Regions from separate parts of the Homo sapiens genome. Here regions 2 and 3 are each linked to region 1. The links are contacts of gene promoters, found by promoter capture Hi-C in human tissues and cell types (Jung and others, 2019). All regions are on one chromosome and are shown on one strand. The core of a region is centred on a gene start or on the middle of the fragment in contact, and the rest is flanking DNA. Distances in the headings are between cores, read along the strand shown.

Region 1 (4,668 bases), core at 1,317-3,816:
TAATTAATACCTGGGACACGTCCTTTTATCTAAGGTACTTAAAGGGCTTTGTGGTCATTAACCCATAAATCCACTGGTCTCAAGCCATCAGGAGCTCAAGAGGAATCTCCTTAGAAGACAAGCACACCAGAAGCTAAAACATCACCAGGAGGAGGAATGACAACCATGACTAACCAGCAGGAAGGGGGTGGGAGGTGCAGGATCAACAAAATAGTACTCCTGGAAGAATTCAATGGAAAATCCTCCTGCAGTTCTGCTGACAGCAGTTTAACCACTCACTATGCTCTTTGAGTGGATGCTCACGGATGTCACATTTCATCATCTGAAAAATCCCTTTACCCTTAACGTAAACATTAGCCTTCACAGCTTCGGAAAGACTGCTATTATACCCAAAGCAGGTAAAGGGGAGCTTAAGGTGTAATTGGATGTAAGAAAATTCTATCATCCCTAGAATCTTCTTCTCTCATAGGAGAAAATGGCTTTTTGAAGTTAAGGAACTCTAAAGATAGAACACCACTTCAGAATGATTTTGTCAAGGGTTTGTTAAGTCTCTCACTTATTTGCAGGTGTTTTCCATTAACACACATCTGTTGAAAAACCACACCACTAAAAAGGACCTTCTGAAAGATCTGGAATTTTATCTTTAGAATCATTCCATTAATTGAATTATCCATCACCCAGGAGGTTCTCCACATAGAAGCAGGTACTATGGGGACATAAAATGTGGAACCTGACCCCTAGACAGCTATAAATCCAATCAGGAGATGAGATTAATTCATATAACAGAAATTGAGACATTTATTATTCATTTATTTCAATTCATTATTACTTAATATGTATTCATAAGTTAACTAATAGGCAGAAAATAGGGTTTCTGTAATTTTGAACAGAACAGACCCCAAGTCTTGTATAGTTCCTGGTGGAAGGTGATCAGCGAGGTCTAGAATGATGAGGGAAGGCAGGAAGAGTCATAGAGGAGATAAGGTGAAGAAAATCCTACAGGGAGGGAATGAATTTGGGTCAAAAATAGGATAAATGGGAATCAAGCACAAGGCAGTTTCGGACAGGGACAGAGGTGAGCACTTGGGAACTTATTTTTTTTGTGAGCCAGTGGGAAAACCAAGGAGGCTAAACCATAGAGCCTGGAGATGTGAAGGAAGTACAGGTGGGTAAGAAAGGGAGAGCCAGATCACAAGCACCTTGAAACCAGACACTGGTTTGGGGTCTTCAGCAGTCCTCTGTCGAAATACATATATTCAGGGGCTGGGTGTGGTGGCTCACACCTGTAATCCCAGCCCTTTGGGAGGCAGAGGCAGGCAGATTACTTGAGGTCAAGAGTTCAAGACAAGCCTGGCCAACATGGTAAAACCCCGTCTCTACCAAAAATATAAAAAACTAGCCGGGCGTGGTGGCATGCACCTGTAATCCCAGCTACTCGGGAGGCCAAGGCAGGAGAATCACTTGAACCCAGGAAACGGAGGATGCAGTGAGCCGAGATCGCGCCACTGCACTCCAGCCTGGGCGACAGAGCGAGACTCCATCTCAAAAAAAAAAAAAAACAAACATATATTCAGGAAGAAAATCAAGGAGTAAATTGGAGGTGGCGGGGTGCGGTTGGTGGGTGTAGGCTGGACACTGTGCTGTGCTGTATTTTGTGTCACCATAGAAGAAAAGGAATATGGTATTCAAGTATCAGCCGGTGACCTTTAATTGTCAGTTCTTTATCTTGGGATAAATTCACAGACTGATTCACAGTTTTGCCTGCCACTGGCCATTTTAATGCCAGTAGTAGACAAAACCACCCTTCCTTATGGCCCAGTGAAACCTCATTACCTGTACTTTGTTGAATGGATGCTCTTTTGAATTAAAATCAAGATGTGGGGGCCGGGCAAGGTGGCTCATACCTGTAATCCCAGCACTTTGGGAGGCCAAGGCGGGCAGATCACGAGGTCAGGAGTCTGAGACCAGCTTGGCCAACATAGTGAAACCCCGTCTCTACTAAAAATACAAAATGTGGTGGCATGCGCCTGTAATCCCAGCTACTCGGGAGGCTGAGGCAGGAGAATTGCTTGAATCCGGGAGGCCAGAAGTTGCAATGAACCGAGATCGTGCCATTGCACTCCAGCTTGGGTGATGGAGCAAGACTCTATCTCAAAAAAAAAAAAAAAAAAAAAATCAAGATGTGAGAAAGTCTCCAGAGATGGCTTTTTAGGCAATAGGTCAGAAGAAGGACGAGGTATCCTGGTGTAAGTCACCTGAGGGCCTTGTGTAGCTTCCCTGAATGTGTTGCAATACACAGGGAGGAAGCCGTCTTTCCTAGATTTATACCCACTTTCAGATTTACACCCGCTCCCTAAGGCCAAGGTGCCTCTGGTCAGCAGTAGAATGAAAAAGAATTATTCTCACCAAGGAAATCTCTGTAGAAAAGTTGCTGTGAAACTGGAATAGGTGTGTCTTTCTGTCCTTCCGGTTCTTTTTATAGATACTGCAGGAACCTCAGTGAGAGCCTACGGTTCTTCCGCCCATTTGGGGAGAGATTAAAGAAGCTGAGGTTGGCTCTTTCTTACTCATTGGCAGTTACAACTTTGCCAGCACTACAGCCTAAGCTTCCAGAGTGGACACGGAGAAGGTAAGTTGGAATTGGGGGGCCATGTTCTCAGCTGTAAACCTGGGTCACTCCAGCCATCTGGTCTGGGGATAACTGAAGGGAAGTAGAGCTAAGGGGTATTCAATTGCAATTGATTTTTTTTTTTCAAATGAATATGTGGGATCTTTTTCCTAGGCTACCTCAGTCAAGACATGGACTTTCGTACTAAACTGTTCAAAAAGGTATTTAAAGAAAGGGACCATTTTGTACAATTCTTTGATGAACACACAATAGGTGTTTAACTACAACCTGCTGCATTGGATTGACTTGAATTAACTGAAAGAAGGAACAGTCATTAAAATTACTGGGAAATTTTATTCCCAGTAATTTATCTGCCTGTCTCCTTCAAGCAGTGCATCAGTGTCTAGAACGATCCAATGATCCATTAATGTTGGCAGTCCTTGTTCTGGAGTCTGATATAACTGAATTCCATCAATCATGCAAACATTCTCATACACCTCCTTTTATGAAAAAGATTTTGTATTAGCTTTCAAAGCCTTGGAAATTAGCATACACAAATGGACATATTATCAAGTGAAGCCTGTTCAGCTTTTCCCAGCAGGATGAAGCCAAGATAGTTTTGAAGGGTTTAGGTTGCCTTTCTCATTTCCTTTACTGACATCCTATATAAAACTGCTATAAATTTGGGGTAATATGTGTGATGGCATTTCCCATCCCCTTAGACTATGTTTGCATATATCTCTGAATTTCTTCCCCCAGGGAAGCTTAGCATTTAGATAAGTATCAGGAGTCAAACAAAATGTAACTCAGGCTCTTGACAGTGTCCTAGGAACAATTTTGGTAAGGACATTTATTTCATATGCCCAGGTGTCTTCATTTCAGAATGAGAGAAATTACAGTGCCCAGCATGGACCACCCAATAGGCATTCTTGTAGGTATTAGGTTGGTGCGAAAGCAGTTGCGGTTCTTGACGTTACTTTTTTTGTTTGTGTGTTTTTTGTTTTTCGGTTTTTGTTTTCAGACAGCGTCTCACTCTGTCGCCCAGGCTGGAGTGCAGTGGTGCGATCTTGGCTCACTGCAACCTCTGCCTCCTGGGTTCAAGCAATTCTCCTGCCTCAGCCTCCCAAGTAGTTGGGAATATAAGCGCATGCCATCATGCCCGGCTAATTTTTTATGTGTGTTTTTAGTAGAGATGGGGTTTCACCATGTTGGCCAGGCTGGTCTTGAACTCCTGACTTCAAGTGATCCACCCACCTTGGCCTCCTAAAGTGCTAGGATTACAAGCATGAGCCACTGTACCCTGCCTTGTTTTTTGCTTTTTGAGACAGAGTCTCACTCTGTCACCCAGGCTGGAGTACAGTGGGGCAATCTCGGCTCAATGTAAACTCTGTCTCCTGGGTTCAAGCGATTCTCCTGCCTCAGCCTCCCGAGTAGCTGAGATTACAAGTGTGCACCACCACACCCGGCTAATCTTTGTATTTTTAGTAGAGATGGGGTTTCACCATGTTGGCTAGGCTGGTCTTGAACTGCTGACCTCAAGTGATCGGCCCGCCTCAGCCTTCCAAAGTGCTGGGATAACAGGAGTGAGCCACCGCACCCAGCCTTCTTGCCATTACTTTTAATAGCAAAAAGCACAATTACTTTTGCACCAACCTAAGAGATGCAGAGTTGTCAATTTGTCTCATCCTTTTTCTGCAGGGCATCAGAAAACCATTCTGGTGAGGTCCACACCCATAAGTCACCATGTACAAGGACTGCATCGAGTCCACTGGAGACTATTTTCTTCTCTGTGACGCCGAGGGGCCATGGGGCATCATTCTGGAGTCCCTGGCCATACTTGGCATCGTGGTCACAATTCTGCTACTCTTAGCATTTCTCTTCCTCATGCGAAAGATCCAAGACTGCAGCCAGTGGAATGTCCTCCCCACCCAGCTCCTCTTCCTCCTGAGTGTCCTGGGGCTCTTCGGACTCGCTTTTGCCTTCATCATCGAGCTCAATCAACAAACTGCCCCCGTACGCTACTTTCTCTTTGGGGTTCTCTTTGCTCTCTGTTTCTCATG
Region 2 (4,668 bases), core at 994-3,493, 1.2 Mb before region 1:
GTTTCAGCTCTTTTTTTTTTTGAGATGGAGTTTCGCTCTGTCACCCAAAGTGGAGTGCAGTGGCGCAATCTCGGCTCATTGCAATCTCTGCCTCCTGGGTTCACGCCATTCTCCTGCCTCAGCCTCCCAAGTAGCTGGGACTACAGGCGCAAGTCACCATGCCTGGCTAATTTCTTTTGTATTTTAGTAGAGACGGGGTTTCACCATGTTGACCAGGCTGGTCTCGAACTCCTGAGCTCAGGCAATCTGCCTGCCTCAGCCTCCCAAAGTGCTAAAATTACAGACATGAGCCACTGCGCCCAGCCAGCTCTTTTTTTTCCGATGAGATGCAAGGAAACTTAAAGAGCCTCTAGTATATCTTTTTTTTTTTTTTTTTGTCTCCCAGGCTGGAGTGTAGTGGTACAATCTCGGCTGACTGCAACCTCTGCCTCTTAAGTTCAAGCAATTCTCCTGCCTCAGCCTCCCGAGTAGCTGGGATTATAGGTGTGTGCCACTATGCCCTGGCTAATTTTTGTGTTTTTAGTAGAGGCCGGGTTTTGCCATATTGGCCAGGCTGGTCTTGAACTCGTGCCCTCAAGTGATCTGCTTGCCTCAGCCTCCCAAAGTGCTGGGATTACAGGCGTGAGCCACTGCACCCGGTCTACCTTATCTTTTTACAGATGTGGAAACCAAGGTCTACAGAGGTCCCCTTATTTGTCAGCAGTGCAGCTAAGTCTAGAATCTGGTCTCTAAACTCCCAATTCTCTGGACTTTCTACTTCATTCTTTCTTAGCTTCAGTCTTTGTAACTTGAAATTACCCTTGACACAGAATTTAGTAGCTCTGTTAATAAATCATCTGCCTCTGCAGCTCTGCCTTTTGTCCTATTTGGCCTTAGTTCCACTTTTATTGAAATATTTGGTAATGCTTTCATCTGATTTTCCTTCTATATTACAATTTTCTCTTTCTGTTCACCTTCTGGTTTCCTGGCCCTAACCCTAAATGTAGTGAATGGCCAAGGTTTCATGAATATTAAGATCTAATATTTATGTGCACTATCATCTTCCATGCTCTGTTTATTTTTTTATTCTTGTGACACAGTTAATAATTATGCATCTGAAATGGCTGCAAGTTTAAAAAGCAAAAGGAAAAATTCTTTTGCAATAGGTCTTACTTAATTTACAGGTCTCATTTTTGCTTCATTTCTCCGTTTCTTTCCCTTATCTAGCACTAGCCTCATTAAAAACTTTTATATGAGAGATTAGCATTTTTAAAGTCAAGATCTCTCTTCTATACTTATGTTTGAAAAGGCCTCCTCCACTCTTTCTTCTTGGGTGATGGCACTTTGAACATAAAGCTAGTATAGTATGGGCCTCAATGCATTGGTATTTCCATGTTTATCTCCTCTGCCAGACTGAGCACCTTGAGGGTAGGCATTGTGTCTTAGTAATTTTTGTATACTTTAGTATCTCACAGTATAGCTCCTAAGAGGATCTCCATACATAGTTGTCAAGTGGAATCAACCAACCCTTCATATAATTTCAAATACATTAGATGAAACCATCCTTTTCCCAATAGTGATCGTTCTTCTATAACATATTCTTGCATTTCAGTTGAAGACAGGGATGTCCCCCGACCCCCCTACTCTGCCCAGGCTATCCTATGCTATCCCTTGAGTATCCCGTATCCCTAAGTCTGACCTGAGCAGAGCTACTTGAAAGTCTTCCTTTCCTGGAAAATGTGGTTTGAAGTGTGCCAGGAAAATCTCTCTCCCATGTGTATGGTCCTTTTTTGAATAAATCCAAACCCATTCTCATTTGGGGCTTGAAAACTTTTTAGCTTTCAAAAGCCTGCTTTGGAAATCCAGATGTCTCAAGGGAAGGCAGAAACTTGTCTCTCATCTGCTGACACCTTAGCAGCAATAACATTTCAGCAGAAAGTGCTGTGAGCAGCAGTTGGTAAAAAGTGGAGAGAAGCAGAAAAATGCCTTTTGTTCTTTCCCACCTGCTCTGGCTTTCTGGTGTTTGCTTTTTCTCAAGCATTTTTCTTTTCTGTTTTCTCTTCTCTTCTCTTTTTTCTTTTCTTTTCTTTTCTTTCTTTTTTTTTTGAGACTGAGTCTAACTCTATCTCCCAGGCTGGAGTGCAGTGGTGCGATCTCAGCTCACTGCAACCTCTGCCTCCTGGGTTCAAGTGATTCTCGTGCCTCAGCCTCCTGGGTAGCTGGGATTACAGTCACCTGCCACGATGCCCTGCTAATTATTATTATTATTATTTTTTGTATTTTTAGTAGAGACAAGGTTTCTACATGTTGGTCAGGCTGGTCTCAAACTCCTGACCTCAAGTGATCCACCTGCCTCAGCCTCCCAAAGTTCTGGAATTACAGGTGTGAGCCAGCACGCCCGGCCATGTATATTTCTTGAGCTCATATCCGAAGATGGAAAATTAGCCATGACACTCCCATGGGCTATTCGGCTTTGGGGGCCAGGGCAGCTTGGAGGGTCACCCTGTTACACACAGCTTTAGCCCTGCTAAGAGGGGCTGTAGGGACCCTTTTGCCCAGCAGAGGGTACTGTCTGTGCTGGCAGCCTCTCTCACTGTGGATGGTCCCGGCTCAACCGTGCTAAAGTTAGCTGCTGGTTTGAAAATTTTATTTGTTTCTGGTTTGTGACACAGTGCAACCCAAAACAGGATGACAAATGTTTACTCTTTAAATTACAGGTTAAAATCTTTAAAATCATTTTTGAGAGTTTAATTTTTGCCCCCTAAATCCTCCGATGGAGTTACAGACTCAGGTGATGTCAGGAAACAAGATTGAGTGTTGACTCTCTGCTCTCTTTTCTTTTGTAGCAAGCAGGTATGTTTGCTGCCCCTTATTCTTCTAGCTGAGTCTTCACCCTCATTTAGGCCACCCCCAGAGCAAGGGTGGATGTGGGGTCCCAGGAAGAGGTTGTATGTCCTTAAGGATTTGGGTGTTTTCCGACGGAGCACACTCATGGTAGATCATCTCTCTGGTCTTCAGGAGGACTTTGCTTAAGTCACAGTCCAGGTGAGAAGTATGGGGTTGGATGTGGTCTTCCAAGGGGGCCTTCATGACTCACATCGGTCGTTCCAGGCACATCCGAGGCCTTCCCAGGATGATGAGTGTATCTGTGCAATGACTGACCTATGACTAGCCTATTATCACTGATACCCCTTGGGCAAACCTAGCAGCCAGCAGTAGGTCAACAACCAAACAGAACTTCAGACAGCCTTTCACTTGTACCTTAGAACTTCCGACCTGCTATTCTTGGGAATCGCTCTGGGGTAGACATGAGATCCTCACCCCCTTGGCTTCTCAGAAATTGCTCTCCAGTTTTATTTAGACTGTATGAAGCAGGAACTGACAGAGCTGCCTAATGCTTCTTAGCATGCAATGTTATTACAAATATAATGGCGTTCAATTTAAAAATAAAATACATTTTCTACTTTGCAACCCTTCTGTTCTCTTTCATTTAGCTGTTTAATAATGTCAAATGCTTAGAACCCAGATTAGAGATTCTTACAATAGTCTCTGATTAAACCCTAATAAAAGCACAGTCAGGAAAATTCATAATATAAGGCATGCTAACTAACTTTTGGAAGCTCAATTTATATTTTGTAAGGCTAAGACTAATTTGAGGATTATGTTTTAAACTAAAAAGCTTTATGGGTACTTAGGCAAAATACTAGTAATAATAAATGAAATAACCCAAAACTTGGGTAGTTTTGTTCCTTCATTGACTAATTGCTTTTACTCCGTTTACTTTCAAAACATTATTTGAGAAAATGTACCATAATTCTTTAGAGCACTGAAGTAAAAATGCAAACATAAGGGCCAAGCAGTGAAGGACATTGAATAATTATTCCAGAAAACTCAAGTTTAAGGGAAATGTTTGCTTTTTTTTTTTTTTTTTTTTTTTTTGAGACAGGGTCTCACTCTGTCACCCAGGCTGGAGTGTAGTGGCATGATCTGGGCTCACTGCAGTCTCTGCCTCCTGGGTTCAAGTGATTCTCCTCCTTCAGCCTCCTGAGTAGCTGGGATTACAGGTGCCCATCACTATGCTTGGCTGATTTTTGTATTCTTAGTAGAAATGGGGTTTTGTCATGTTGGCCAGGCTGGTCTTGAACTCCTGGTCTTAGGTGATCCATCCACCTCAGCTTCCCAAAGTGTTGGGATTACAGGTGTGAGCCACTGCGCCCAGCCAGGAAATGTCTACTTTTAAGTCCAAGACTTAATTCTGGATTTTCTTAGAGCCAGGGAAACAAGGGAATCAGTTTGGGTTATCTAGCTCTCATATCTAATATGAGTAAACATACTGCACAAATGTCTTACTGGAATTAAATTCAAAAAAATTATGTTGTAAATCTTTGCAGATGTTGGTATACATAGTGGACATATCTTCAACAAAACAAGGTGTTCTTTATTTAGCATTATCTACACCAGTTTCTGATAGAAAAATGAGGGCATAGTATTAAGTCATAGTTTGTGAAGCCATTTCTATAAAGAACTAGAGCAGTATTCAGGTATATGACTTTCCAGTGAAGTGACATGACATAGCTTGGAAATTCTAAAAGAAAAACAAGAAGAATGAAAAGTTAAAATTCCTATAGTCTATCTTTCTTAAGCATCAGTGGTCAGAACTGGGTTTTTGTTAGGAACTTATAAAAGGTA
Region 3 (4,668 bases), core at 625-3,124, 1.1 Mb before region 1:
GTCTGTATGTTGAAGAAACTCATTAAGCATCAACTAAGATAAAAGCAAAGTTATTTACACCTATACCCATGATAATAAAAAACTTTTAAAAGCCTAGACAAAAGCAAAGTTTTAGAATAGTGAGAGTGAGAGGAAAATGACTCATTGTGAATGAAGAACCATACACGATGGCTAGTGGCTTGCTTTTCATAAAACATACAGAGTGTAGAAGGCAGTGAAATAAATAGCCAAAGTGATCATAGGAAAAAAAAAAAGCCTATCAACGAAGAATATTCTTTCTAGCAAGACAGTCTTCGAAAATGAAGGCAGGCTGGGTGAGGTGGCTCACACCTGTAATCCCAGCACTTTGAGAGGCTGAGTTGGGAGGATTGCTTGAAGCCAGGAATTTGAGATAAGTCTGGGGAACATAATGAGACCCCATCTTTACAAAAAAAAAAGAAAAAAGAAAAAAGAAAAAAGCTAGGCATGGTGGTGTGTACCCCTACTTCCATACTTCCAGTTACTCAGGAGGCTTAGGACCCCTTGACCCCAGGAGTTTGAGGCTGCAGTGAACTATGATTGCACTACTGCATTCCATCCTGGGTGACACAGTGAGACCATATCTCAAAAAAAATTTAAAAAATAAAAAAGAGTAAAAAATGAATGCAGAATAAAGACCTTCCCAGATAAACAAAAATAAAAATAGACCTTGTCTACAAGAAATCTGAAGGCAGTCCTTTGGGCTGAAAGGAAATGACAGCAGATGATTACTCAATTACATAGGAAGGAAGAAGGACCAATGAAAATGTTAAATATGGCCGGGCGCGGTGGCTCACCCCTGTAATCCTAGCACTTTGGGAGGCTGAGGCGGGTGGATCACGAGGTCGGGAGATCAAGACCATCCTGGCTAACATGGTGAAACCCCGTCTCTACTAAAAATACAAAAAATTAGCCGGGCGTCGTGGTGGGTGCCTGTAGTCCCAGCTACTCGGGAGGCTGAGGCAGGAGAATGGCGTGAACCCGGGAGGCGGAGCTTGCAGTGAGCCGAGATCGCGCCACTGCACTCCAGCCTGCGCAACAGAGCAAGACTCCGTCTCAAACAAAAAAAAAAAAAAAAAAGAAAATGTCAAATATATGGACAACTATAAAAGACTGTCCAGTGTTTTCTCTTTTCTTAATTTCTTTAAAAACAAAAAGTACTTGAAGCAATAATTATAATGCTATATTTTGGAGGATATCTTACATATATAGTTGTAATATGTATGACAATACTAGCACTAAAGTGAGAAAAGATAGTGGAAATAATAAACTGGAGCAAAGTTCCTGTATATTATTACTATTATTATTAACCTGAAACAGATTATGATAAATTAAAGATATATGTTGTAGTCCTTAGAAGAATTACTAAGAAAATAATTTAAAAATATAATTAAAACTCTAACAGAGGAAAGAGCAAGGTCCAACTATATGTTATCTATAAGAGACATTATATTGAAAAATACCAACAGGTTGAAAGTAAAAGGAGAGAAAAAGCAAACAATAGCTAGTAAAGAACCAAACTGGCTTTATTACATACAAAACCATAGACCTGAAGACAAGTACTATTATGAGAGACAAAGATAACAATTTTATAATAATAAAATTTTCAGTATATCAGGAAGAAGTAGCAATTATAAATGTATAAACATCTAACACCAGAGTCCCAAATGTAGCAAAGATTGACAGAATTAAAGGACAGACAATATAATATTGTAGTAGTTGGAAATTTCAACATCCTTCTTTTAGTAATTGACAGAACTAGACAGAATATCAGTAAGGATATTCACGACTTGAACAACACCATTAACCAACTTGATGTAAATAATATATAGAGCACTCTATCCAACAACAGCAGGGTACACATTTTTTTCAAGTGTACATGGAACATTTTCCATGATAAATAATAATACTATAGACTGTCAAACACATCTCAGAATATGATTTTTGACTAAAAAAATTCAGGAAACCAACAACGGAAAAGTATTTAGGACTTCACAAATATTTGGAATTTCAACAAATAGTTTTAGAAAAACAGTGAGTCAAAGATGAAATCACCAGGTAAGTTAGAAAATATGCTTAACTGAATAATGATTAAAACCTAATCTATCAAAATTTATGAGAGGTAGCTAAAGTAGTGCTTACAGACAAACTTAATGTTAAGTGCTTATATTAGAAAGAAAATAGATCTAAAATCAATTTCCTAAGCTTCCACCTCAAGAAGCTAGACAAAGAATGGTAAGTTAAATCTCAAGTAAGCATAGGGAAGAATATAATAAAGACCAAAAAAGAAATAAATGAAATACAAATTGGAAAAACAGAGTAAATCCACAAAATCAAAAGTTTGTTTATTTAAGATCAGTAAAACTGATAAACATTTAGCTACACTAACAAAAAAAGAGATAGAAGACAAATTAACAAAATCAAGAATGAAAGAACATCACCACAGATCCTGCAGAAATTAAAAGAATTAGAAGGGAATATTATGCCAATGAATTAGACAATGTAGATGAAATAGTTAATATTCTAGAAGGATACAGGTTACCAAAACTGTCATAAGAAGAAATAGAAATCTGAATAAACCTGAAATTCATAGAGATTGAATTAGTAATTTACAAGCTTCCTACAAAGAAAAGCTCAGACCTGGATGGCATCACTAGTAAATTTTGTCAAACATTTAGAGAAAAAATAATACCAATCCTACACAAACATTTTCAGAAAAAAAGAGGAGGAAACCCTTCCTAACTTGTCAGTATTGATATGATACCAAAGCAGGACAAAGTTATCACAAGAAAAGAAAACTATACAATTATTTCTAATGAACATAGATGCAGAAATTCTTAACAAAATATTAGCTTATTGAAACAAGCAACATAAACAGAGGATTATATGCCATTACCCAGTAGAATTTATTCCTGAAATGCAAGAATGACTTTACATATGCAAATCAATTAATAAATATACTATATTAATAGAATGAAGGACTAAAGCTATACAATTTTCTCAGTAGACACAGAAAACAACTTTTGACAAAATATAGTATTCATTGATGTTTAAAATCTCTCAACAGATTAGAAATAGGAACGAACTTCCTGTACCTGAGAAAGAGTATGTATGAAAAACCTTCAGCTAATATTATACTTAATTGTGAATGATAGTTGTAAAAGTTTTCCACTTAGATTGGGAATAGGCCAAGTACATACACTCTCACTACTTCTACTCAACATTTTACTGAATGTTCCAGCCAATGTAACTAAGCTACGAAATAAATTAAAGGCCTTTATGATTTTGTATGTAGAAAATCCCAAGATTATATGTAGGTTAAGTACCAGTTAAAATTAATGTGAGTTTAGCAAGGCTGCAGGCTATGAAGTAAATTTGCAACAACCAATTTTATTTCTTTATACCAGCAATGAACCATTCGAAAATAAATTTAAGAAAGTAATTTCATTCACAAAAGTATGAACAAAAGAAAATTCTTAGGAATAGGTATAACAAGAGAAGTGTAGGACCCATAAGCCAAAATATTATAAAACATTGCTAAGAGAAATCACACAAGATCTAAATTAATGGAAAGAGATACCATATTCTTGGAATGTAAGACTCAATGTTATTAAGATGGCATTTCTTCTCAAAATGATCTGTAGATTTAACACAATTCCTATCAAAATCCCAGCAGGCTGTTTCTTGTTGAATTTGGCAAGTTGATTCTAAAGTTTATATGGAAATACAAAGAGCTAAAACAATTTTGAAAAAGAAAAATGAAGTTGGGGATTTATACTAGCTTATTTCAAAATTACAGCATGGTTCTGGTCATCAGGCAGTGTGGTATTTATTGATATAAGGATAAACATTGGTCAGTGGAACAGAATGGAGAGCCCAGAAATAATCTCTAACATTTATGATGAATGGGTTTTCAAAAAAGGTGCAAATACAATTCATTTGGGGAAAAATAGTCTTCTCAACAAATTGTGCTGAGACAATTTAATATCCATATGCAAAAGTACTTAGACTCTTACATTACCCTGCACACACACACACACAAAATTAATTCAAAATGGATCAGAGAGTCAAATGTAAGAGCAAGAACTGTAACATTTCTAGAAGAAAACATTAGATCACAAATATGATTTCTTCAATCTAACAAAAATGACAAAATTTATAAATTAGACTTTATCAAAGTTAAAATGTTTTACTCTTTAAAAGGCACTATTAATAAAACTAAGCCACAGACTAGAAGAAAATACTTTTAAGTCATATAACTGATAAAAGACATACTCGGAATCATAAATAGCTATTACAATTCAATAATAAAAAGACAAAGAATCTGATTAAAAAATGGGCAGGTTTGAATAGGTGTTTCACCAAAGAAGACATGCAAATGACTAACAAGCACATAAAAAGATGAAAACATTTAGGAGAGGCGAAGTAAAAGCACAACGAAATACCACTAGAGACCCACCAGAATGGCTGTTATCAAAGTCTTACAATATTGTGTCAGACAAGCTGAAATCCTTCTACAATGCTCATGAGAATGTAAAATGTTATATTCACTTTAGAAAAACAGTACAGTAGTTTCTTGGCAAGTTATACATATACTGTACTTACCATACTACCCAGCATTTGCACTCCTTAGTATCTACTCAGGAGAAG

Evidence for each region. Contacts are between HindIII fragments. The study calls those that stand out against the background at their distance.
Region 2: a fragment that was not itself captured here is called in contact with the fragment with the promoter of GPRC5D in region 1 in 1 of the 25 tissues and cell types used here (stomach).
Region 3: a fragment that was not itself captured here is called in contact with the fragment with the promoter of GPRC5D in region 1 in 1 of the 25 tissues and cell types used here (dorsolateral prefrontal cortex).

What each region holds. Positions count from the first base shown.
Region 1 is chr12:12,950,068-12,954,735 of GRCh38, reverse strand. It overlaps GPRC5D (G protein-coupled receptor class C group 5 member D), which reads left to right and starts at 2,566. Exons shown (of 4, transcript NM_018654.2): 1 at 2,566-2,629; 2 at 4,307-4,668. The coding sequence starts at 4,352. All of the region lies in intron 1 of GPRC5D-AS1 (GPRC5D and HEBP1 antisense RNA 1), which reads right to left. The HindIII fragment of the contact is 7,971 bases long and covers 1-2,989 here.
Region 2 is chr12:14,136,523-14,141,190 of GRCh38, reverse strand. No RefSeq gene overlaps it. Among named protein-coding and RNA genes, the nearest start is that of GRIN2B, 160 kb to the right of the region's middle. The HindIII fragment of the contact is 4,662 bases long and covers 1-4,574 here.
Region 3 is chr12:14,018,404-14,023,071 of GRCh38, reverse strand. No RefSeq gene overlaps it. Among named protein-coding and RNA genes, the nearest start is that of GRIN2B, 39 kb to the right of the region's middle. The HindIII fragment of the contact is 5,764 bases long and covers 1-4,668 here.